4 separate regions of the Homo sapiens genome follow, and regions 2, 3 and 4 are each linked to region 1. The links are contacts of gene promoters, found by promoter capture Hi-C in blood cells and fetal thymus (Javierre and others, 2016). All regions are on one chromosome and are shown on one strand. Each heading gives the region's core, a stretch centred on a gene start or on the middle of the fragment in contact. The rest is flanking DNA. Distances are from core to core; before and after follow the strand shown.

Evidence for each region. Contacts are between HindIII fragments. The CHiCAGO score rates a contact against its expected background, and 5 or more counts as called.
Region 2: the fragment with the promoter of CHAMP1 here is called in contact with the fragment with the promoter of ATP4B in region 1 in 4 of 17 cell types (total CD4 T cells, naive CD8 T cells, naive CD4 T cells and 1 more); the score reaches 7.6 in total CD4 T cells.
Region 3: the fragment with the promoter of CDC16 here is called in contact with the fragment with the promoter of ATP4B in region 1 in 6 of 17 cell types (M1 macrophages, endothelial precursors, M0 macrophages and 3 more); the score reaches 6.8 in M1 macrophages.
Region 4: a fragment that was not itself captured here is called in contact with the fragment with the promoter of ATP4B in region 1 in 1 of 17 cell types (M1 macrophages); the score reaches 5.0 in M1 macrophages.

The regions. Positions count from the first base shown.
Region 1 is chr13:113,655,959-113,661,323 of GRCh38, forward strand. ATP4B (ATPase H+/K+ transporting subunit beta) reads right to left here and starts at 2,240. Exons shown (of 7, transcript NM_000705.4): 1 at 2,075-2,240. The coding sequence starts at 2,186. It also overlaps a transcript of GRK1 not described here. RefSeq lists an enhancer at 1,559-2,059. The HindIII fragment of the contact is 11,349 bases long and covers 1-5,365 here.
Region 2 is chr13:114,311,317-114,316,681 of GRCh38, forward strand. CHAMP1 (chromosome alignment maintaining phosphoprotein 1) reads left to right here and starts at 3,187. Exons shown (of 3, transcript NM_032436.4): 1 at 3,187-3,327. RefSeq lists silencers at 1,778-2,072, 2,845-3,524. The HindIII fragment of the contact is 6,923 bases long and covers 975-5,365 here.
Region 3 is chr13:114,231,832-114,237,196 of GRCh38, forward strand. It overlaps CDC16 (cell division cycle 16), which reads left to right and starts at 3,066. Exons shown (of 18, transcript NM_001078645.3): 1 at 3,066-3,301; 2 at 4,814-4,868; 3 at 4,968-5,065. The coding sequence starts at 3,254. RefSeq lists an enhancer at 2,865-2,914 and a silencer at 3,025-3,384. The HindIII fragment of the contact is 7,021 bases long and covers 1-4,330 here.
Region 4 is chr13:114,201,346-114,206,710 of GRCh38, forward strand. All of the region lies in intron 3 of CFAP97D2 (CFAP97 domain containing 2), which reads left to right. Among named protein-coding and RNA genes, the nearest start is that of CFAP97D2, 25 kb to the left of the region's middle. The HindIII fragment of the contact is 5,983 bases long and covers 1-5,365 here.

The sequences.
Region 1 (5,365 bases), core at 990-3,489:
GAGCCAGGTCCCTTCAGCACCAGCTGGGCTCAGGGCTGGGTCTTGCTCACCTGGCATCCACTTTGAGTCCCTCCTTTCCCCGCCGGGCGTCCCTGGTGACGGCGTTCTTGTGTGGCCACAGCAGCTTGGCTTCAGCCTCCGGTTTTGAGTTTCCAGCTTCAGCAGTGTGGGGCCCGCAGTGGTGGAGGGTTTCTGTCCTGTCACTGGATCACGCCTGGTGCCTCCCTGGTGCTGGCCCTGCAGGTCCTGCCTCAGTGTCCCCAGGTCACTCCTGATGTGGCTTCTATTTGACTTGGCCGCCTGTCCCCCGGGGACCTACGCTCGTGACGGCAGGGGTCTCTGTTCCCCCGCTGTGGGTCCTGTGGGTCTGCTCTGGGGCCCGTGGTGCACAGTGGAGATGTGGGCGGTGCGTGTCTCCCCAGTGGCTGCTGACCCACTCTGTGGCGAGTCTCAGCTCCACCAGGCGGCTCAGCCCTGCCTCCCGGGTAGGAGCCCGAGGTTGGCCAGGCTGGGCCCAGGCTCGGGAGGGCCATGCTCCCTGCACTTCCTGGGCCCCCGCTTGCACCACGGTGTTCAGGGCACGCTGCAGTGCACAGGGGAGGGGTTGGGAGGTGACTGAGAGTCCCATTCCCGCCAGCTCCTGGGGCCGGCCGGGTGCAGCTCACTCTGCCTCTCCTGCACCTGCACCCGTCCCCCAATTAGTAAGAATAACGTGTCCTATTCCTTTTGTTTTTGTCATTTCACTTGAGTTGTGTTTTCCTGGGGCCCTAAGACTTTCTTATCCCAAACGGAGGCCATGTCTACCGGCCAGGCAGTGAGACCATTCCAGAAGGTTCTCTGTGGCCCTGCAGCCAGGAGGCGGCACATGGGAGTCTCAGCATCTAGAATGGCCCAAAAGATGGGGCTTCCAAGGACCTGGCCGGCAGCCCCCAGCCCAGCCCCCGCCCTCAGCTCCTTCCCCATCCTGGCCTCCCGCTCTGCCGCCCCGCCTGGCCCAGGAGGCCCTTCTGCCCCCGGTCCCTGCCTCTCTAGGAACGGGGTATTTGTTCTACTTCAAATGCGCCCATGACTCCAGCTGGCTCTGGTGCCCTTTGAGACCGTGGAGCCTCCAGCGGGGGCTGCAGCCTTCACCAGCACTGTGGTGAGTGTGGGGGATTTGGCAGCGTGTCACGGGCATTCCCAGCACGTCTCAGCTACACACACAGGTGGGGCGGGCCTGGGGCTTTGCATTCCCACCTCGGCTCTGGGACCCCCAGAGCCGGGCACCGTGGGAATTGAGGAGGGCCTGACCTTCCCTGGGAGCCGGGGACGGCACCAGGCCAGCCAGTTCAGCCGCATCCCGACGCCCAGGGGTCGCAGGGGGAGGTGGGGGCGCACAGGTGCTTCCTCCAGACTCTCTCATAAGGGGTGAGGGCGTTTCCCGGAACGGGTGTGGCAGCCCTGATGTAGACGCAGACGCTTCCACCACCTGTGTGGCCTTGGAGGCCCAGGCATCTGCTTTCCTCCCAGGAGGGCCAGGCTGCCCGCGCCTCTGTGCAGCCACGGGGACAGGACCCTGCAGGGCAGACCTCGCACAAGGCGCAGGTGCTGCAGGCTGAGGCAGGCCTGGTTTACTCCCCACCTCCGCATCTGGACGCCAGCGGGTGTCCCGGAAAGGGGCTGGCAGCCGCGTCTCGGCAGAGCCCCTTATTCAGGTCATTGCGTGAATCTGTGTGACCAAGGAATCACCGTTGCCACCTTTCACGTTATTTTCAAAATGATTCACTTTAGAAACATACTTTTAAAATGCTGTTCTCAGACATACGGCTGACATTTGGGGCCAGTCTGTGGACGCCCTCCACCGGCGTTCTGCAGCTGGGGCTCCAGGTCAACTCAGCCTTCAGGATGCTCTGGGGACCCTCGCTTTCCCTGGGAGGCAAGTGAGGCCCTGGCCGAAGCCCGTCCACGCCATCCAGGCAGCATCGGGGTCTCACTGTCAGGGGCCCTCTGCTCCCCTCCTCCTGAGCTCACCTGGAGGCTGCGTCCTCAGAGCGGCCCCCTCCATGCACCCAGCCGGCCCGCCCCCCGCACGTACCCCACCGGGACAGGGTGCGGCCCAGCATCTGCCCCGTGTCCGGGTTCCAGCAGTAACGCTGGAACTCCTCCATGCGCTGGCCACACGTCTTCTTCTCCTGCAGAGCCGCCATCGTCCCTGGCCTGAGATCCTCCCGTCTGCTCCCTGCACCCTCTACGCCCAGACTGAGGCCAGATGCCCACCTCTGGGCTTTATAGTTTCCTCTGCCAGAGGTCAAAGGCATCGCAGGCGAAGGATCCCAGGGAGAGGCCAGGGCCGTTTATCAGCGCCGGCCATCGCCTCACCAAACACCAGGGGCTGGGTGCAGCCCGGCTGTTGCCCCTGGGGCGGGCCAGGCCCGCTTTCCTCACCCTGCTGCTCTTGGGACGCCCTTGGCTGCAGCTTTGTCTGCTCTGATTGCGGTGAGGGCACGTTCCGGGGTGAGCAGCACTCACAGGCCCTTCCCCTTCCCTCCTCTCCTTCAGGAGGGAGATTGAGGTCAGAGCAGAGCCGGCCTGGACCCACTGTGTCCACGACCTTGGGCTGAGCCAGCTGGGGCCGCATCCCTGGCCTGGGAGGGCGTGAGGCAGGCGAGTGAGGGGCGACCGGCTCCCTGGGCCCCCCGCTGCGGCCGCCCCGATTCTGGGTCACCCAGTGGAAGGGTGAGCCTGGCAGCTGGAGCTGGGTTGGCAGGGAACACAGGGGTCCCCGGGGACTCCTCTGCCTCCCAGATTCACCCAGAGCAGCAATAGCCTCTTAGATCCCCAGAGGGCAGTGGCACCGAGGGCCCTTTAGGATTTTTTTGTGTCCATGGAGGAATTCATAAACACAAACCCCTAAATCTAGTGGTCCTCAAAATGAAGTGCACAGGAGCCCTGAGCATCTGTTGAATGCAGATTCAGCCCAGCGAGTCCTGTGGGGGCCCCAGACTGCATTTCTAACAGTGCTGGTGGGAGGGAGTAAGGCAGGGTCCAGGTGGGGGATGCTCAGCCTGGGCAGTACCTCGGGGTCACCGGGGGTCCGGGCAGTGCACTGGGGTCACAGGGCCGGGGCAGGGACCATGAAGTCATCACTGCCCACTTCCGCCCGGAGATTCTGCCTGAGCCTCTCGCCCATGGGTCCGAGCACCAGGACGTGGAGGGCTCCCAGGCAGTCTTGTTGGGCGGCGCACTTCAGAACCCCGGCTCAGACGCTTTGCTGTTGGAGACAGGGGTCCTGGATGGCAGATGCCATTGCTGCCTGCTGGCTGCAGTGCCCATCTCTGCAGGAGGTTGATGGGAATGCAGGGCAAATGAAATGTGCTCAGGGGCCTTCTGACAAATATGATTCGAAGTCGACTAGCCCTGTGTGTCCAGAATTACATGCAGAGTTTCCCATACTGTCAACTCTAGGCCGTCCCTCTCAGGGACCCGTGTAACCAAATTCATTTCTTAGAAGAAACAAAATTCCTCTAGGCATTACGCTGCTTTAATTTTTTAGGATAATTTAGAGTTTGCAAAATAATTGCCCTAAAATTCAAATGGAATGATGTCATTTTAGCCTGGATTCCTATCATTTCTTTTCTTTTTTTTAATTTCTAATTTTTATTTCTTTTATTTTTTTGTAGAGATGGGGTCTCCCTATGTTGCCCAGACTGGTTTAGAACTCCTGAGTTCAAGGGATCCTCCCACCTCGGCCTCCCAAAGTGTTAGGATTACAAGCGTGAGCCCCTGCGCCCAGCCATAATTTCTTAATGGACCTATCCTTCCTTTAACATTGTACCCATTTCTGACTTTGGAATGTTAGGGCGATAAGAACACAGGGTCTGGCAGTAAAGGCCACAGTCTGATTGTTCACAGACTGTGGCCCTGGGACCCCAGAGTGCCAGGGGTCTGACAACACCTGGATGCAGCAACTGTTGTCTGTGAAGGGTATAGATGCTCTTGAAATGAACAAAGTATGAATTATTTCTAAACATCTTTGAATTTAGTCTTCCTAATGTAGTCTCTGAATTTCCAGAAGCAGGTACATGTGCTGAGCTGTACACATGTTATCAGAATGACCTTCTTCTGGACACATACGTGTGGGGAGGAGGGCCAGAGACCTTGGTAGAGGGCAGTTTCCCCACAGCATGCTCTGAAAACATAGAACTAGGTGCTCTATACAAATTGGGTGCCAGACAATGAGGGGGGCCCAGAATCCCACCCACATCTGGCAGCCACCGGTCACCCCTCTCTCCCCCCATCTGAGTGGTGTCAGACACAACGTAGTAGAAAGTTAGGACTGTGACCACCACACAGTGACAAGGCCACCTCCCACTGTGGTGTCAGTGGAGACCATATGGAAAGCCAGGACTGCTACCCACCCACCCAACAGTCCTCAGGAGCCCACCCAAAGGTTCCCAGTGGGAAACCTAGACTTCTGGCCCCACATGGTGTTAACAAGGTGAAGCCTCTCCCTTTTGCTGCTGAAGTGGGGTCAGAGAAAGCCAGTAAAAAGAGAAGGATTAAATAATATGAAAACGTCTGGGTTTCAGTAGATAACCACTCATCACACAAAGAACGAGGACGATTTTAAGATGAATTAATACAAAGCTGGGTGTTTTGGCTCATGCCTGTTATCCCAGAGCTTTGGGAGGCTGGACTGAGAGGATCGTTTTAGACCAGGAGTTCCAGACCAGCCTGGGCATCTCTGCTAAAAAATTAAAAAATTCTAAAAATGAATTTAAAAAGACAATATATGCCAACACCAAGGTGACAGAGATGTTAGGATTAGCTGCCAAAAATTTTAAAGCAGCCATGATAAAAATGCTTGAATAGCAATTACAAACAAGCCTGAAACAAATGAAAAACTAGAAAGCTGCAAAATATGGAAAGCAAACTGATAGAACTAAAAGTAGACATAAACACATCCACAATTATAGTTGGAGATCTCAACACTCCTCTCTTAACAATTGATAGAACAACCAAATAGAAAATTAGCATGGATACGGAAGAACTCAACATCATCAACCAACAGGATGTCATTGACATTCGCAGAATACTCAACAGAGAATACACATTCTCTTTAAGTCCCCATGAAATATATATCAAGATAAGCTGTATCTTGGGCCATAAAGGAAGTCTTAGCAAATTTAAAGAATTCAAATCATACAGAGTATGTTCTCCAATCACAATGGAATCAAATTAGATATTAATAACAAAGATAACAGAAAAACCTCCAAATATGAAACCTGAACAACATACTTCTAATACTCATGAGTCAAAAAGGAAGTTTCAAGGGAAATTTAAAAATACATGGAACTGAATGAAGAAAAAATACACCATATAAGAA
Region 2 (5,365 bases), core at 1,937-4,436, 660 kb after region 1:
AGTTGATTATATTAGATCTAAATTATAAGCTGGACTGCTTTTATTATTTCTCTTACAGGAAGCACTTAATAATTTATTTCTAATTTTTATTATGTTCCTTGTAATACATATTAATGCAGCAATTTGAATGGAAAAATTAAGTCTGACTTTCTGACAGAAAGCCAGTCTGATTTTGGCTGCTTCATTTGACAACATGATTCTGTGTAGGTTTTGAATATGTGCAGATACTCAGCACTGTTATTCTTTATACACAGAAGACAAATGACAAAGTCCAGTGCCATCTCAGCTAATGAGTTTGCAGCTCCTCAAAGGCTGTCAGGCTGCCACTTTCTACTGCAATTGTAGTTCACCTGCCTCTACCCATTCCCTGATTCAAGTCTGGTCCCTGGAACATAGTATAGGTTGAGAAAACATCAAAATAAACTGTTGAGAAGTATATGTTCAATAGATCCTTAAGTGAAATTTTGAAAGTCCATAAGGGTCTGGTTTTAGTACAGGATTTTATGAGAGTTATTTCTGCTTTCTTTGGTTACTTTAAAGTTTAGTGCAATATACTGGGAACCTTTCAAAAGGCCAAATTGGGAGTTTATTTGCATTATTCATCTTGAACTATTTAATATTCTATAACTACAATAGCTTTTTTAACATGATTTCAATTCAGAATAATAGCAGAGGGTGTTTTGGTTTTTGTTATTTCGTCACCAAGAGTTGCCTTCTGCTAGAGTTTTGTTCAGTGTTCAATTGGAATAGGTCTCTTGGGATCATCAACTCATTCTGACACTTCAGGAAAAAACAACTGAAGCAGCCATTCAAATTAGGTCCTGCAGCCACAACGAACCTGTTTCATATTAAGAGTCAGGATCTCAAAAAGTTCTCAATCAGTAAATCTTTGCTATTCAGAGAAAATAAAAGATCCTCTCATTTCTGCATTTAACATTTACAGTTTACAAACTGTTTTCATTGGCTCTTTTAAAAGCTTGTAACTAGGTGGATACTTTTTAAAGAAATCTATTAAATTTAATGAATCAATTTTGCTGCAAAAACAAAACTTAGAAAAATCCTAAAATATTTAATATTGATATTTGAATCCTAGAAATCAGAATCATTCCGGAAATTAACACAGGATCCTAAATTTTGCATGAAAGGGAGGTAGAGCCAGGCGCTGTGGCTCACGCCTGTAATCCCAGCACTTTGGGAGGCTGAGACGGGCGGATCACGAGGTCAGGAGATCGAGACCATCCTGGCTAACACGGTGAAACCCCGTCTCTACTAAAAAAATACAAAAAAATTAGCCGGGCGTGGTGGCGGGAGCCTGTAGTCCCAGCTACTCGGGAGACTGAGGCAGGAGAATGGCATGAACCCGGGAGGCGGAGCTTGCAGTAAGCCGAGATGGCGCCACTGCACTCTAGCCTGGGCGACAGAGCGAGACTCTGTCTCAAAAAAAAAAAAAAAAAAAAAAGAAAAGAAAAGAAAAGAAAAAAATGTAAACACAATATAGCAACTTTTGTGATACAGCAAAAGCAATGCTAAAGGGGGAGTTTATAGCTATAAATACATCAAAAACCAAGAAAATCTCAAATTAACAACCTAACTTTACAACTTAATGAACTATAAAAAGAAAAACTAAATCCAAAGCTGGCAAAAAGAAGGAAATAATAAAGATTAAAGCCAAGATAAATGAAATAGAAAATAGAAAACGATAGAGAAAATCAATGAAACCAAAAATTGGTTCTTTGAAAATGTCAAAGCATTATTCACAATATCTTGAATAGGGAAGCAAGCCAAGTGTCCATCAACAGGTGAGTGGATAAGCAAAATGTGGCATATCCATACAATGGGATAGTATTCAGTGTTAAAAAGGAAGGAAATTCCACAATGTGCTACAACATGGATGAACCTTGAGGATGTTCTGCTAAGTAAAATAAGTCAGTCACAAGACAAATACTGTATGATTCCACTCTTATGAGTAGTCAGACTCAGAGACACAGGAAGTAAGATGGTGACTGCCAGAAAGTAGAAGGTAGAGGGGAACCGAGAGTTAACATGTAATGCATAGTTTGTTTTTCAAGATGAAAGAGGTACAGAGATGGATGGTGGTGTTATGAATATACTTACCACCACTGAGCTGTACACGTAAAGATAGTTAAGACGGTAAATTCTATGGATTTTATTTTTATTTTTTTGAGACAGAGTCTCACTCTCTCCCCCAGGCTGGAGTGCAGTGGCGCGATCTCGCTGTAACCTCCGCCTCCCCGGTTCTATGGGATTCTCCTGCCTCAGCCTCCCTAGTAGCTGGGGTTACACGCGCCCGCCACCACGCCTGGCTAATATTGTATTTTTAGCAGAGACAAGGTTTCACCAGGTTGGACAGGCTGGTCTCGAACTCCTGACCTCAGATGATTCACCTGCCTAGGCCTCTCAAAGTGCTGGGATTACAAGCGTGAGCCACCGCGCCCGGCCATTCTATAGTTCATTTTCACCACAAAAACAAAAATGAAATTCACAACAAGCAAAACTTCAGAAGGGTACAAAGGTAGAGAGCAGTGTGAGCTAATTTTACAGTCTTTCAAAGCATACAGACTGATGGCATCAGCATTAGAGGTGCATGCATTTTAATTAGAATTGTGGTGGTAACATTCATAAAACTGAAAACAAAAAACGAAGAAGATAACTTCTGGGAATCGGGACTTTCAGTGGAGGCGGGGTGATGAGAAAAGGAATATTTACTGTCATCCAACAACTTTGTCTTGTACTTTTGTCATAGGTATTATGCCAGTAATATCCCTGAGAATGTATGGGGCAGGTCTAGCTCTTTTTTTCCTAATAAATTCATTCACACAACAATCAAAACAGCAAGAAAAGGAAGAGATATCCGCACGGCGGCGGCAGGCCGGGGCCGTTCCAAGGGCCTGGCCGGAGGCCACAGGCCAGACGCGGCGGAACCCTCCCGGAGCCGCGCCCGGGCGCGCGCGGGAAGCGGAGGCGGAGTGGGCACGTGCGGCACTTCCGGGGCGGGGCGGGCACGCAGCCCTTCCGAAGGCCCGCGCGAGCCGCTAGTTTTGCCCACGCACTTTTGGCACAGCCGCGCCACGCGATCGGCGATCTGATTGGCCCGCGCGGGAGGGCGCGCGGCGCCAAACTTGCTTCCCGTCAGCCCCCGCCCGTCCCGCGGGAGCGCGCACGCTCGCGCACCCGGATCCCGGCTCCTGCATCCAGTCGCCATTCGGGAGGCCGCTGCGCTGCAGGGCCTCGCGGAGCCGCCCGCGACCGCGAGCCGGGCCCTCCGCGCGGTCCATCGCCCACTGGACGCCGCCCGCGGCCGGACCGGTGAGGAGCGAGAGCGAGCGGGGGAGGGGCGTGGTTGGGGCCTGCATCCCCGAGCCCCGTGTCGGCCGCCGACCTGGCGGGGACGGTCCCGGGAAGCCGCGGGTCCGAGTGAAGGGGGCCTGCGCTGCCTCGCTTCCCACACGGCCCGAGGGAAGGGCCCGCCCCCACAGGCCGGGGCGGGAGTGCGTCTTTGTGCAGGGAGCGGGGAGGCCCGGTGTCAGTCGCTGCCGAGGCTGGAAACATTGCGTTTGAAACCATTGGGAAGTTGAGGGCGGCACAAGACGAAAGCCATTCTTTCTGTTTTAGTTCTAGACTGCCTCCTCTTCTGTCATTATTACTGTTTAAAAATCCGCTATACAGCCTCCAAAGTGGGAGAGGACATTTGTAAACCTGATAAAGAGTTAATGTCTAGAATACAAGAAGAGATGCAACTGACCAACAAAAAGCAACCCAGTTCAAGAATGGGCAAGGAATTTGAATAGATATTTCTCCAGAGAAGAGAGACAAATGGCCAATAAGCACGTGCAGTGATGCTCAACATCACTAACCATTAAGGAAATGCAGATGAAAACCACAATGAGATACCACCTCACACCTGTTAGGGTGGCTATTAAAAAAAAGGGAAATTATGAGTGTTGGGGATGTGGAGAAATTGAAGCTCGGGTGCATTGCTGGTGGGAAAGTAGGGTGGTGCAGCAGCTATGGAAATTGGTAGTCGTTCCTCAGTTCTAGGTTTATACCCCCAAAAATTGACAGCAGAGACTCAGATACTTGTTCACAAATGTTCATCGCAGCATTATTCAAAATCCAGATGTCTATCAACATGTGGATGAAAGGCAAGCTGTGGTATATACATATAATGAATGGACCATTGTTCATCTTTAGAAAGGAATGAAATTCTGATACATGCTGCAATATAAACGAACACATTATACAGTATAAACGAGCACATTGAACACATTATGTTGAGTGAAATAAGACACAAAAAAGACATACTGTATGATTCCCCCTCAGGCACAGAATTGAGATTACCAGCACTGAAAGTGGAGAGTGGAAGTTACTGTTTCATGGGTACAGAATTTCTGTTTGTGGTGAAGAAGTTCTGGAAGTGGATAGTGGTGATGTTTGCACAACGTTTTAGTACTAAACTAACTAAATTGTGCTTTTAAAAATGATTAAATGGCAAGTTTTGTTTTTTTTTTTTTTTTTGAGACGGGAGTTTCGCTCTCGTTGCCCAGGCTGGAGTGCAATGGCCCGACCTTGGCTCACTGCAACCTCCGCCCCCTGGGTTCAAGGGATTCTTTTGCCTCATTCTCCCAAGTAGCTGGCATTACAGGCGCTTGCCACCACACCTGGCTAATTTTGTATTTTTAGTAGAGATAGGGTTTCTCCATGTTGGTCAGGCTGGTTTCGAACTCCTGACCTCAGGTGATCCACCCGCCTCGGCCTTCCAAAGTGCTGAAATTACAGGCATGAACCACCATGTCCGGCCTAAATGGCAAGTTTTTTGTTTTTATTTTTGTTTTTGTTTTTTAATGAGCCAGAGTTTCACTTTTGTTGCCTGGGCTGGAGTGCAGTTATGCGATCTTGGCCCACTGCAGCCTCCGTCTCTCGGATTTAAGCGATTCTCCTGCCTCAGCCTCCCAAGTAGCTGGGATTACAGGCGCCTGCCACCACACCCGGCTAATTTTGTATTTTTAGTAGAGACGAGGTTTCTCCACGTTGGTTAGGCTGCTCTCTGACTTTCAACCTTAGGTGATCCGCCCACCTTGGCCTCCCAAAGTGCTGGGATTACAGGCGTGAGCCTGTGGTGGCGCGCGCCTGTAGTCCCAGCTACTGGGGAGGCTGAGGCAGGAGAATCGCTTGAACCTGGGAGGTGGAGATTGCAGTGAGCCGAGATTGCGCCATTACACTCCAGCCTGGGTGACAGAGCGAGACTCCCTCTCAAAAAAAAATAAATAAATAAAAATGACTCCTTGTGTAAACTATAGACTACTTAATAAATCAGTATTAGCTTATCATTGTAGCAGATATCTCA
Region 3 (5,365 bases), core at 1,816-4,315, 580 kb after region 1:
CTCTTGTTGCCCAGGCTGGAGTGCAGTGGTGCAATCTTGGCTCACTGCAACCTCCGCCTCTGGGGTTCAAGTGACTCTCCTGCCTCAGCCTCCCGAGTAGCTGGGACTACGGGCATCTGCCACCATACCCGGCTAATTTTTTGTAGTTTTAGTAGAGATGGGGTTTCAGTATGTTGCCCAGGCTGGTCTTGATCTCCTGACCTCACATGATCCAGCTGCCTCGGACTCCCAAAGTGCTGGGATTAAAGGAATGAGCCACCGGGCCTGGCCTCAGGTGTTTCTTTACAGGAATGTGAGAACAGGCTAATACAGAAAATTGGTACTGAAAAGTGGGGCATTCGTATGAAGATACCTGAAAATGCGGAAATAACTTTGGAACTGGGTAATGGGCAGAGGTTGGAAAAATGTGGGGGGCTCAGAAGAAGACAAGAAGATGGGGGAAAATTTGGAACTTCCTAGAGACTTTTAAATTGTTGTGACCCAAATGCTGATAGTGATATGGAGAGATGGGCAGGCTGATAAGGTCTCAGATAGAGATGAGAAACTTACTAGGAACTGAAGCAAAGGTCACTTTTGCTGTGCATTAGCAAAGAACCTGGCAGCATTGTGCCCCTGCTCTAGGGATCTCTGGAACTTTGAACTTGAGAGTGATGAGTTAGGGTATCTGGCAGAGGACTCCTGAAAGTGATTTCTGTTAAATCTCGCCCTGGCAATATTAATTACAAATTTACCTTCCAGGTACAAAACAAGGACAAGATGAGATTAGTCACTCTTCTGCCTACCCTGATATGGGCTACATAACTCTTTCCTCTACTCCCTCTTGTCAGATGTTTGCCTCATCTTATGTAAATTGTTGGTTTACTGAGCACTAATCAGAGCATCACTGTGGACCCCTCCCTTTTTTTCCTCCTGCTTGCCGTCTCCTCCTAAACACCCAGTCCCCATAACCCTATTTGGATGGCACAGTTGATGCTTCTGTGGCTTGCGTTTTTCCCGGGCCCATCATCAGACTTCTACTGATGGAGACATTTGCCTCAGTCACTCATTTTTGGTTAACTAGGAATCTCATTAAATGGATAGAAGTCGTTGAAAATATGGCTTAAAACACACCTCACCACATGCCTGCCCCAAGTTAATGAGCAGAGTTGATTACTGCCTGCTTGCAGAAGTGGGAAAGGAGGAGGAAAAGGAAATATACAGGGGGACAAATTTTTAAACACAACTTCAAAATATTACCCAGTCATATATGTATACACACACATAGAAAATTACACGGCAGATTACTTACAGTAGCGTGAGAGAATTTTTGAGTGGGTGGGATTCTTTACAGCAAGTTTTTTTTTTTTTGCTTCTTTGAATTTTTTTTACTCTTTTAGGTTTTTATATTTATAAAAGTTATATTTACTTTTTAAAAGTGTCAACCTTAATATTGAGATTCAGAAATATGATTACATATAGTGTGTATTTGAGCACAGAGCCTGAGAATGGCCACCTGGACAAATGGGGTCAGCCTTTCCAAGTGGAGCTCAGGTCTCTCTTACCAGGCGGAGACAGAAGCTCCAGCAGGATCACCACAGTTCTCATATGAGACCAGGGGCACACGCCGCAGCGGTTCCATTGGTTAGGGATCTCTGTATTTGAAGGAAGATTGCGTTATAACTCCATGAGGAGGGGTAGTGATCTGAGGGGGTCTTATCTCCGGTGCCATTTGGTCTTTATTGTTTACAGGGAAAAAGGCAGAAGTTACAGCTGGGTGTGGCATGACCTAGGCCGCGTAGCCACATTCCCCTCAAGGCTCAGGTAATTCAAAGTTCCAACAGCTTCAAGTTTAAATTATTTTAAGTTTGAATGATTTAATTTCACAAAAGGTAATATATGCACATTGACTGAAATTCAAAAGCACAAAAAGATATCCAAGGAAGTACCTCTCCCACTTCTACCATCTCTCATCTTCCAGCACTCCTTCCAGAGGCCTTGCGCTATGCCGGTTTTCTCATTTTTCCTTCCTGGGACAGTTTAGGGATTTTTCTACCTATCATTAAATTCGTATTTTACTCAAATGCAGGCATACGATAAACACGATCCTATACTTGCTTTTTCCCACATACTATATCTTGAAGATCGTTCAATGTCCATGCAAAGCTGACTGTTCTTTTGAACAGCCAGCGAGTATTCCATTACGTGAGCGTATCATGACCTATTTACTCAGTTCCATACTTCATGGGTGTTTAAATTGTCTGCAATCTTTTGCTATTACAAACGAAACCACAGGTCATTTTGCACACATGCAAAAATGCAAATCCATGGTATATTTCCCAAAATAAAAATCATTAGGTTTAACAGCACGAACACCTTTAAATTTGGAAGATATTCCAATTCGTTCATCCTAGAGAGTATACCAATACCACTCACAAAACTTGAGGGTGCCTGCTTCCCGACATTCCTGCTAGCAGTGTCATCAACCTTTGTGATCTTTGTTAACATATGAAAAGTGGTACTCTAATTTTAATTTTTATTATGAATTAAGTTGGACTTTCTTTCGTATGTTAAAGTCTATTTGCATTTCTTTCCCTGTGAACTGTTTTTTGCCTGTCTTTCTCCTGAGCCATTGGTCTCTTCCCACTGACTTATTACATATATGTAAAGGGAATATTGGCTCTACATTATAAGGAAATTCGAATTTTGTGATAGGTTTCAAATTTTTCCCTAGGTTGTCTTTGACTTCATTTGCTGTTTGTGCACACAATTTTTTTTTTTTGTAATGAGAGTGCGTTGCTCTTATTTTTAAAATGTTGACTACATTCTGGGGAAAGAAGGCTCAGCAGCCACCTGCTTTTTTGCCCGGGTGGGTGGTCCGGCCCCGAGCCCTCCTGACTCTCTCGCCAATGCCCAGAGGCGCCGCAGCGATTCCAGGGAGGCCGCGCTCTCGCCCCAAGGCAACCAGAAGCCCACGTGCCAGGAGAGGCATCGGAACCAACAACTCGGGTCCGTTTTCCCGCGCCAGATGGGATTCGTTTGCTGTGGACTTCCGGGGCGGGGCCTGCCTGGAGCGGAAGAGCCTGGGCAGTGCACGGGGCCTGGGTGGGGGGTGCGGGTGTGGGTGGGGACCTGCGGCCTTCGAGTCCGCGGCCTTCGAGTCCTGGGGCGGCGGCGGCGGCTGCAGGCACGGGCACGGGCACGGGGCGGGGTGCTTAGGGTGCAGGAGGCGCGCGCCTAGCGGCGGAGTGTGGCGTGAGGCCGGGCCCGCGCCGCCATGAACCTAGAGCGGCTGCGGAAGCGCGTCCGGCAGTACCTCGACCAGGTGGGCGGCCCCGACTCGGGGTGCGGGGCCCAGGCCTCGCCGGGTCTTTTTCCGCGCGGCGTGGGGCTGGGGTGACTGTTGTCGGGGCTCTTGGTGGGGAAGGACTGGGCCGGCCCTGGGCCTTCATCTGGGGCCAGCAGCGCTGTCTCCGCCTCGCCCAGAAGGGAGCGGTCCCTGCAGCTGGGAGGGGCACAGCCCGGGGAGTGGAGGCCCCCGAGCGCACGGGGCGCCTCAGTCGGGTCTGAGCCTCGTTCTGCACCTGGCGCGGAGGAGGTGCCCAGGAAACACTGACTACTCAGTGCAAGTTGAAGGACAATTTTTGGAGGAAAGTTGCAGGGCTAGCTAATAAAACATTTTTGAGAGGTTTAGTTGTAATTTTTACTGGGCTGAATTTAAGTGAATAAAGATGTGAAGAAGCCTGTTGTCTCAAATCAATACTTTAAAAATTCTCGTTAACTATGTCTGTGTTCTCTGCACTACCTTTGAATAGCAGAGAGCGTTTAAGGCAAGAAGTGTCTTCGAGAATCAGCAGCATCAGTTTTATCTATATTGTTGTTTATTTTTTGTTGAAATGCTTGCTCTTTCAGGAAATTGGAAAGAAAGGGAAAGAAAAGCCATGGTAATGCAGAGTTTTCGGAATTGGGTGCTAACTGACGTGGCCAAATGTTTGCAGTCCATTTGGAGGGCTGTGTTTTTATTTACCATGAGTCAGTTGAATTCAGTGTTTTCTGATCACTTTTTCTTCGGTACGGAGACGTAGTGAGGAATATGACAGGCCCGGTTTCCAGCCAGAGACACCGGTATTGAGCATATTTATAACTATCCCGTTGGCATTCCTCCTGCCTCGGGCTAGCAGCAGTGGTCCTGGCTTGTCTCCAGGGGAACTGAGGCAGAGACTGTAGAAGACTGAGGACTGAGGAGCAGAACAGGGTCTAAAGCTAGCCGTAGGTCACTGTGGGTGGCCCTCATTGTCGGCTCCTTCATTTTTGTTAGACTTGGAGGAGGTGAGTTCTTCCCCATGTTCAGTGAAGCTTAGTTAATTTATGTGTGTGTGTTTTTAAACTTGAGTGTTATTAAAACTGCCACTGTGTTATATAAGGTATTTGAGTATAGTGTTCTGTCTTCTAAATTTCACTTTGGGATTCATTAACAGCTCGTTGAAAGTGTTATATAAATCACACATGAATTGTTAATGACTAGCTTTTGCTGTTTCACTTGCATTTCACTTGTATGTTTCACGATACATTTTTACAGTGTATGAGTTTTAAAAAATTACCTTCATAAGTTGCATATACAAAGATATTACAGGAATGTTTGTATTGCGACACTGAACTAAAATTTACCCTACGTGAGATGTAAGATAGAGATGTAACAAATTGTTGTCTTGAGATGAAGATTTATTACATAGAATTATATTAATATATTACATAGAATTATAATAATATTAGATAACTGTTTAAGACTATTAAAATAACAGGGCAGTTACCACCTTTTTTTTTTTTTGGTATGCAGCAACAGTATCAAAGTGCTCTATTTTGGGCAGATAAAGTAGCTTCACTCTCTCGTGGTAAGTGACAAAATGCTAACTGGTTTTCTGATTAATCTTAAAATTCGTTTTCTATTTCACCTTGTACCTCTGACCACTTATGTGAATTTTTCCCTCCAGAAGAACCCCAGGACATCTATTGGTTGGCTCAGTGTCTTTACCTGACAGCACAATATCACAGAGCCGCCCATGCACTTCGGTCACGAAAACTGGACAAAGTAAGTGATGGTATGAACTTTAAAGCTCTTCAGAGCTTTAAAAAAAATGTCATTAGTGGCCGGGCGCGGTGGCTTACACCTGTAATCCCAGCGCTTTGGAAAGCCAAGGCAGGTGGATCATGAGGTCAGGAGCTCAAGACCAAGATGGTGAAACCCCATCTCCGCTAAAAATACAAAAATTAGCCGGACGTGGTGGCAGGCGCCTGTAATCCCAGCTACTCGGGAGGCTGAGGCAGAGAATTACTTGAACCTGGGAGGTGGAGGTTGCAGTGAGCTGAGTTCGTGCATTGCACTCCAGCC
Region 4 (5,365 bases), core at 1,742-4,241, 550 kb after region 1:
AGCTTATAGTAGTTTCAGATTTCATAATAAATTAAAATATAATTGATCCTCAGGTACCTCGAGGTGTGTGATACAGGAAGATTGCAGGCCCAGCAGGGTGCACCACTGGGAAGGTGCTGCTCCAAGCTCAGGCGGGCCCTGCATGGTCCTGTGTGCTGGCTTTGTTCAAAGGCCCAACTGGAGCAAACCTGCCTCAGAGATGATTTACTGTGGGCTTCCAGGGCTTCAAGGGAAGCCATGGGAAAGTCAACCATTTTTCTCAAGAATGCATCAGTTTGGGGCTTGATAACTGGCTATTTCATGTCTCAGTTGACTCCATTCTTTAACAAAGGACACTTGCCGAGTTAATGCACAATGCTGGAGAGAAACAGTTCGTTTTCAGGGGAGTCTCAGCTGCTTCTGGAGCACTGCAGACCAGTTGGTTGATGGAATAAACATATCTAGCTAGCTGGTCAGCCAGTAGCACAAATCAACATGAGAGAAACTATAGAGCCAACAATTGGACTTTCACTCCTGATTTCATTTTTCATGTCTTTATTCAGATGTGATTGGCATACAGTAAACACATATTCAAAGTGTATGTGATAGGTTTGTCATATGATACACCCATGACACCAGCACCCCAGTCAAGACAGTAAACATATTCATCACTCCCCAGGTTTCCCTGAGCCTTTCGGTCCCCCTACCCACCACCCTCTGCCCATCGAAGGTTCCCTATGGGTGCCTTTGCACTTTCTGGATTTTATGTGTATAGGTTCATCAAGTATCTGCGTTTTGTCTGCCTTTCAGTTAGCATAACGTTGAGTAGTGTTCCATCGTACGGATCTATCACAATGTGTTTATCCATTCACCTGTTGATGAGCATTTGGGTGGTTTCCAGTTTTGGGCTATTACAAATAAGGCTGCAATCAGAGTTTATGTAAAAAGAAATTCAGAGATGAATACCTCTGCCCAAGACTGAAAACTCAATGACAAATGGATTTCAAGTGGGATCCACATGAGAGACCCCCAGAATGACCGCATGAGGAGCTCTCTCAACCCACTCCCCAGCAAAACTTTTGAAAATGGTTAAAACACAGTCATTTAGAGTCTCTGCTGTATGGTCCTAAGAAGAAACATATATTCAAGAAAAGCTACTGTAATTTGACAAGAACAGCAAATGTCCCTGGTATATGAGCTAAAACCTGCTGTCTCCCCACTGCTTCCAGCTCAGCAATGCAGATGCACACCAGAAGCTGCAGCCAAGTGCATGGGCTCTGCTCCCCACAGCTCCTAGTCGAAGGGCCTTCTTCCTGGAAGGGGCAGGGCCTTACTTTTCTCATCTTGTCTGCAGTTGCCTGTTGCTGAGACTAAATCCCAGGTGAGTGTGGCCCCACGCTGGAGATGCTCTTGTTCTGCCCATTTCCTGTTTGTGGAGTGGATGCTTAGCCTGCAGCCTTGGGAATGGTGATCCTAAGACTACAGGAGCCAAGATCCCCTTGGTCTGGTTCATAGGCATTGGTTCCATGCTGGGAGAGTCACGCCGAGAAGACCTGTGTGTCCCTCCAACACACACACACAGTGGAGCACAGAGCCTGGGGTGTCACTCAGAGAGAAGATCGCCATTGTTCCCACTCCGAGCTCCAGGGCTCTGAGATTTTGCCCAGAGGAAGAAGCAGACCCTCGTAACAGCTCCCATTCTCTTCCCAAAGGGATGGTTTAATTTGCAACAGAATTTAGAAAAGTGCAAGCCTCACTGGACATGAAAATAAAAGACATCGAAATTGGGAAGGAAGAAGCAAACTATTTCTATTCACAGATGATATGATCTTGCATATAGAAAATCTTAAGGAATGCACTAAAAAGCTGTAGAACTAATCCACAAGTTCAACAAGGTTGCAGAATACAAGATCAATACACAAAAATCAATTGTGTTTTTATATACTTGCAATGAGCAATCTGAAGAGGAAACTAAGAAAACAATTCCATACTCAAAAGTATCAAAAGAATAGGTACTTAGGAATAAACAAAGGAAGTACAAAATTTATACTCCAAAAACTACAAACCGTCATCCACAAAAATTGAAGATCTAAATAAATGGAAAAATATCCCACGTGTATGGATTCAGAAGTCTTGCTATATTAAGATGGCAATATACAAACTATTGCAGAATTTTGCTCCTTAGTTCAGCTGAAACTGGGTACTTGTCACATGACCAGGAAAATCTAGGCACACGAACACATTGAAGGGTGAGTAGAGCAGGATTTTCTTGGGTGACAAGGGAAAAAAAGAAAAGAAAAAGAAAACTCAGCAAAGTGAGATGGAGTCCTGCTAACAGGCTCCCACCTCACAAATGGAATCCCAGGCCACCACACAGGAACTGAAGAGGCCAGGCTCCTCCCCTGCCCGTGGCTTCACCCGTTTCCCCAGTGCGCATGTGGGCATGTGCAGACAAGGCCCTGGGCAGGTTCCCTCATCTGCACAAAAGCATCTGGTGTAAACACTTGTCAGATGGGGCAGAGATTCTGGGCATTTGGCTGTCTCAAACCCAATCTACAAATTCAATACAATCCCAATTAGAACTCCAGCCAACTTCTCTGTAGAAATTGACCCACTGGTTCTAAAATTTGATGGATTGTTTTAGTCAAAACAATCCTGAAAAAGAAGATCAAAGTAGTAGGACTCATGTGTCCTTATTGTTGCTGGGGAGCAATGGCTATCTCAGCCAGTGGCATGGGGGTAATGAATTTACCAAGACAGTTGTAGGTAAAGAAAGGCAGATTTATGAGAGAAAGTAGGAAAATACATTTCGAGGAGGCAGCGGGCAGCCCACAGGAGAGAGGCTGACTATGAGGAGACCAAGGCTTGCTGGGGATTTTATAGGGTGGCATTTATGCTGAAGAGGGCTTTGTGCAGTACCAATAACACCAAAGCTACAGTGAGCTAACTTGCAGGTGTCTGGTAATAGCTCGGCACAGGAAAATTGTGAGCTGTTTGCGCAGGAGGGCTGCGTGTTCTGGACCATGAAGAAAGGCAGACTTGTCGCTTACCTGCTTTATCTCTTTGCTTTCCCTTGGTCCCACCAGCTTGACTCCTCTTTCCTAATTAGGACTCCACACCTATTTCAAACTTACTAAGAAAGCTATAGTAATCAAGATAGTATTACACTGGCATTAAGATAGACATATAAATCAATGGGAGTCCATGTGTCTATAATCAATGTATTTTCAACAAAGGGGCCAAGACCATTCAGTGAGGAAAGAATAGTCTTTCCACAAATGCTGAGACAACTCTATCGCCACATGCAAAAGAATGAAGTTGGACTCTCACCTCACACCATATAGAAGAATTAATCAAAAACGGATCAAAGGCCTAAATGTAAGAACTAAAACCATAAAACTCTTAGAAGAAAACAGTGGGAAATCATCGTGACTTCAGATTTGGCAATGGAGTCTAAGATATGGCACCAAAAGCAGGAATGACAAACAAGAAGATACATAAACTGGACTTAATGAAAATTAACAACTTTTGTGCATCAAAGGACACTATCAAGAAAGTAAAAAAAACCCACAGAATGGGAGAAAATATTTGCAAATCAGATACGATTAGGGACTTGCATCTAGAATACATGAAGACCTCTCACAGTTCAGTGATAAAGACAATGACCTCATTAAAAGATGGGCAGAAGATCTGAATAGACATTTCTCCAAGGAAGACATACAGATGATTAATAAGCACATGAAAAGATACTTAGCATCATTCATCATCAAGGAAATGCAAATCGAAACCACAACGTGATAGCACTTCACGCCTATCAGATTGACTGGAATCAAAATGACAGATAAGAAGGAGTGTTGGTGACCATGTGGGGAAATTGGAACCCTCCAGGGCTGGGAGGAATGGTGCAGCCACTTGGGAAAACAGTCCAGAAGTTCCTCAAGTGATTAAACATATTTTAATAAATATATGGGGATTAAATATATTTACCATATAACCAATTTCACTCCCAAGTATATAACCAAGAGAAATGAAAACATGTCTACACGAAAACATATACAATTGATTTTTGTGTATTGATCTTATATTCTGCAACCTTGTTGAACTTGTGGATTAGTTCTACAGCTTTTTAGTGCATTCCTTAAGATTTTCTATATGCAAGATCATATCATCTGTGAATAGAAATAGTTTGCTTCTTCTTTCCCAATTTGGATGTCTTTTATTTTCATGTTCAGTGAGGGTTGAACTTCTCTAAATTCTGTTGCAAGTGAAACAGCATTTAGAACAGCTCGTCCCTTTGGGAAGAGCTGGGAGTGGAGACAATGGCAATCTTCTCTCTGAGTGACACCCCAGGCTCTTTGCTTCATTGTGTGTATGTTGTGGGGACACACAGGTCTTCTGGGCTTGCCTCTCCCATCTTGGAACCAATGCCTGTGAACCAGCCCAAGGGGATCCGGGCTCCTGTATTCTTAGAAGCACAATTTCCAAGGCTCTAGGCTGATCCTCCATTCCATAAACAGGGGCTGGGCAGAACAATGCCACACTCACCTGGGACTTAGTCTCAGCAACAGGCAGTTGAGGACAAGAGGAGAAAAGCTGAGGCCCTGCCTCTTCCAGGAAGGAGGCCCTTCGACTAGAAGCTATGGGGAGTAGAGCCTGTGTGCCTGGCTGCAGCCTCTGGAGTGCAGTCTGCATTGCCGAGCTGGGAACAGCAGGGAAAGAGCAGGTTTCAGCTCAAATGCCAGAGACATTTGCCAAATTACAGTAGCTTTTTTTCTTTTCCTTTTTTTTTTTTTTTTTGAGACAAAGTCTTGCTTTGTTGCCCAGGCTGGAGTGCAGTGGCACAATCTCGGCTCACTGCAACCTCCACCTCCCAGTTCAAGTGATTCTCCTGCCTCAGCCTCCCGAGTAGCTGGGATTACAGGCGCGTGCCACCACACCTGGCTAATTTTTGTATCTTTAGTAGAGACAGGGTTTCGCCATGTTGGCCAGGCTGGTCTTGAACTCTTGACCTCAGATGATCTGCCCACCTCAGCCTCCCAAAGTGCTGGGATTACAGGCGTGAGCCACCGCTCCTGGCCAGTAGCTTTTTTTAAATAAATGTTTCTTCTTAGGACCATACAGCGGAGACTTTGAACCCTAACCCTAACCATATAATGGAATATTGCCCAGCTATGAAATGGAATAAAGTATTGACACGGGCTACAACATGGATGAACTTTGAAAACATGCTAAGTGAAAGAAGGCAGTCACAAAAGACCACATATTAGACGATTCCACGTATATGAAACAAATCTATAGAAACAGAAAGTAGATCAGTGGTTGCTTAAGGCAAGGGTATGGAGGGGTAGCAAGATGATAAAGGGTCCAGGGCTCCCTAAGGAAGTGA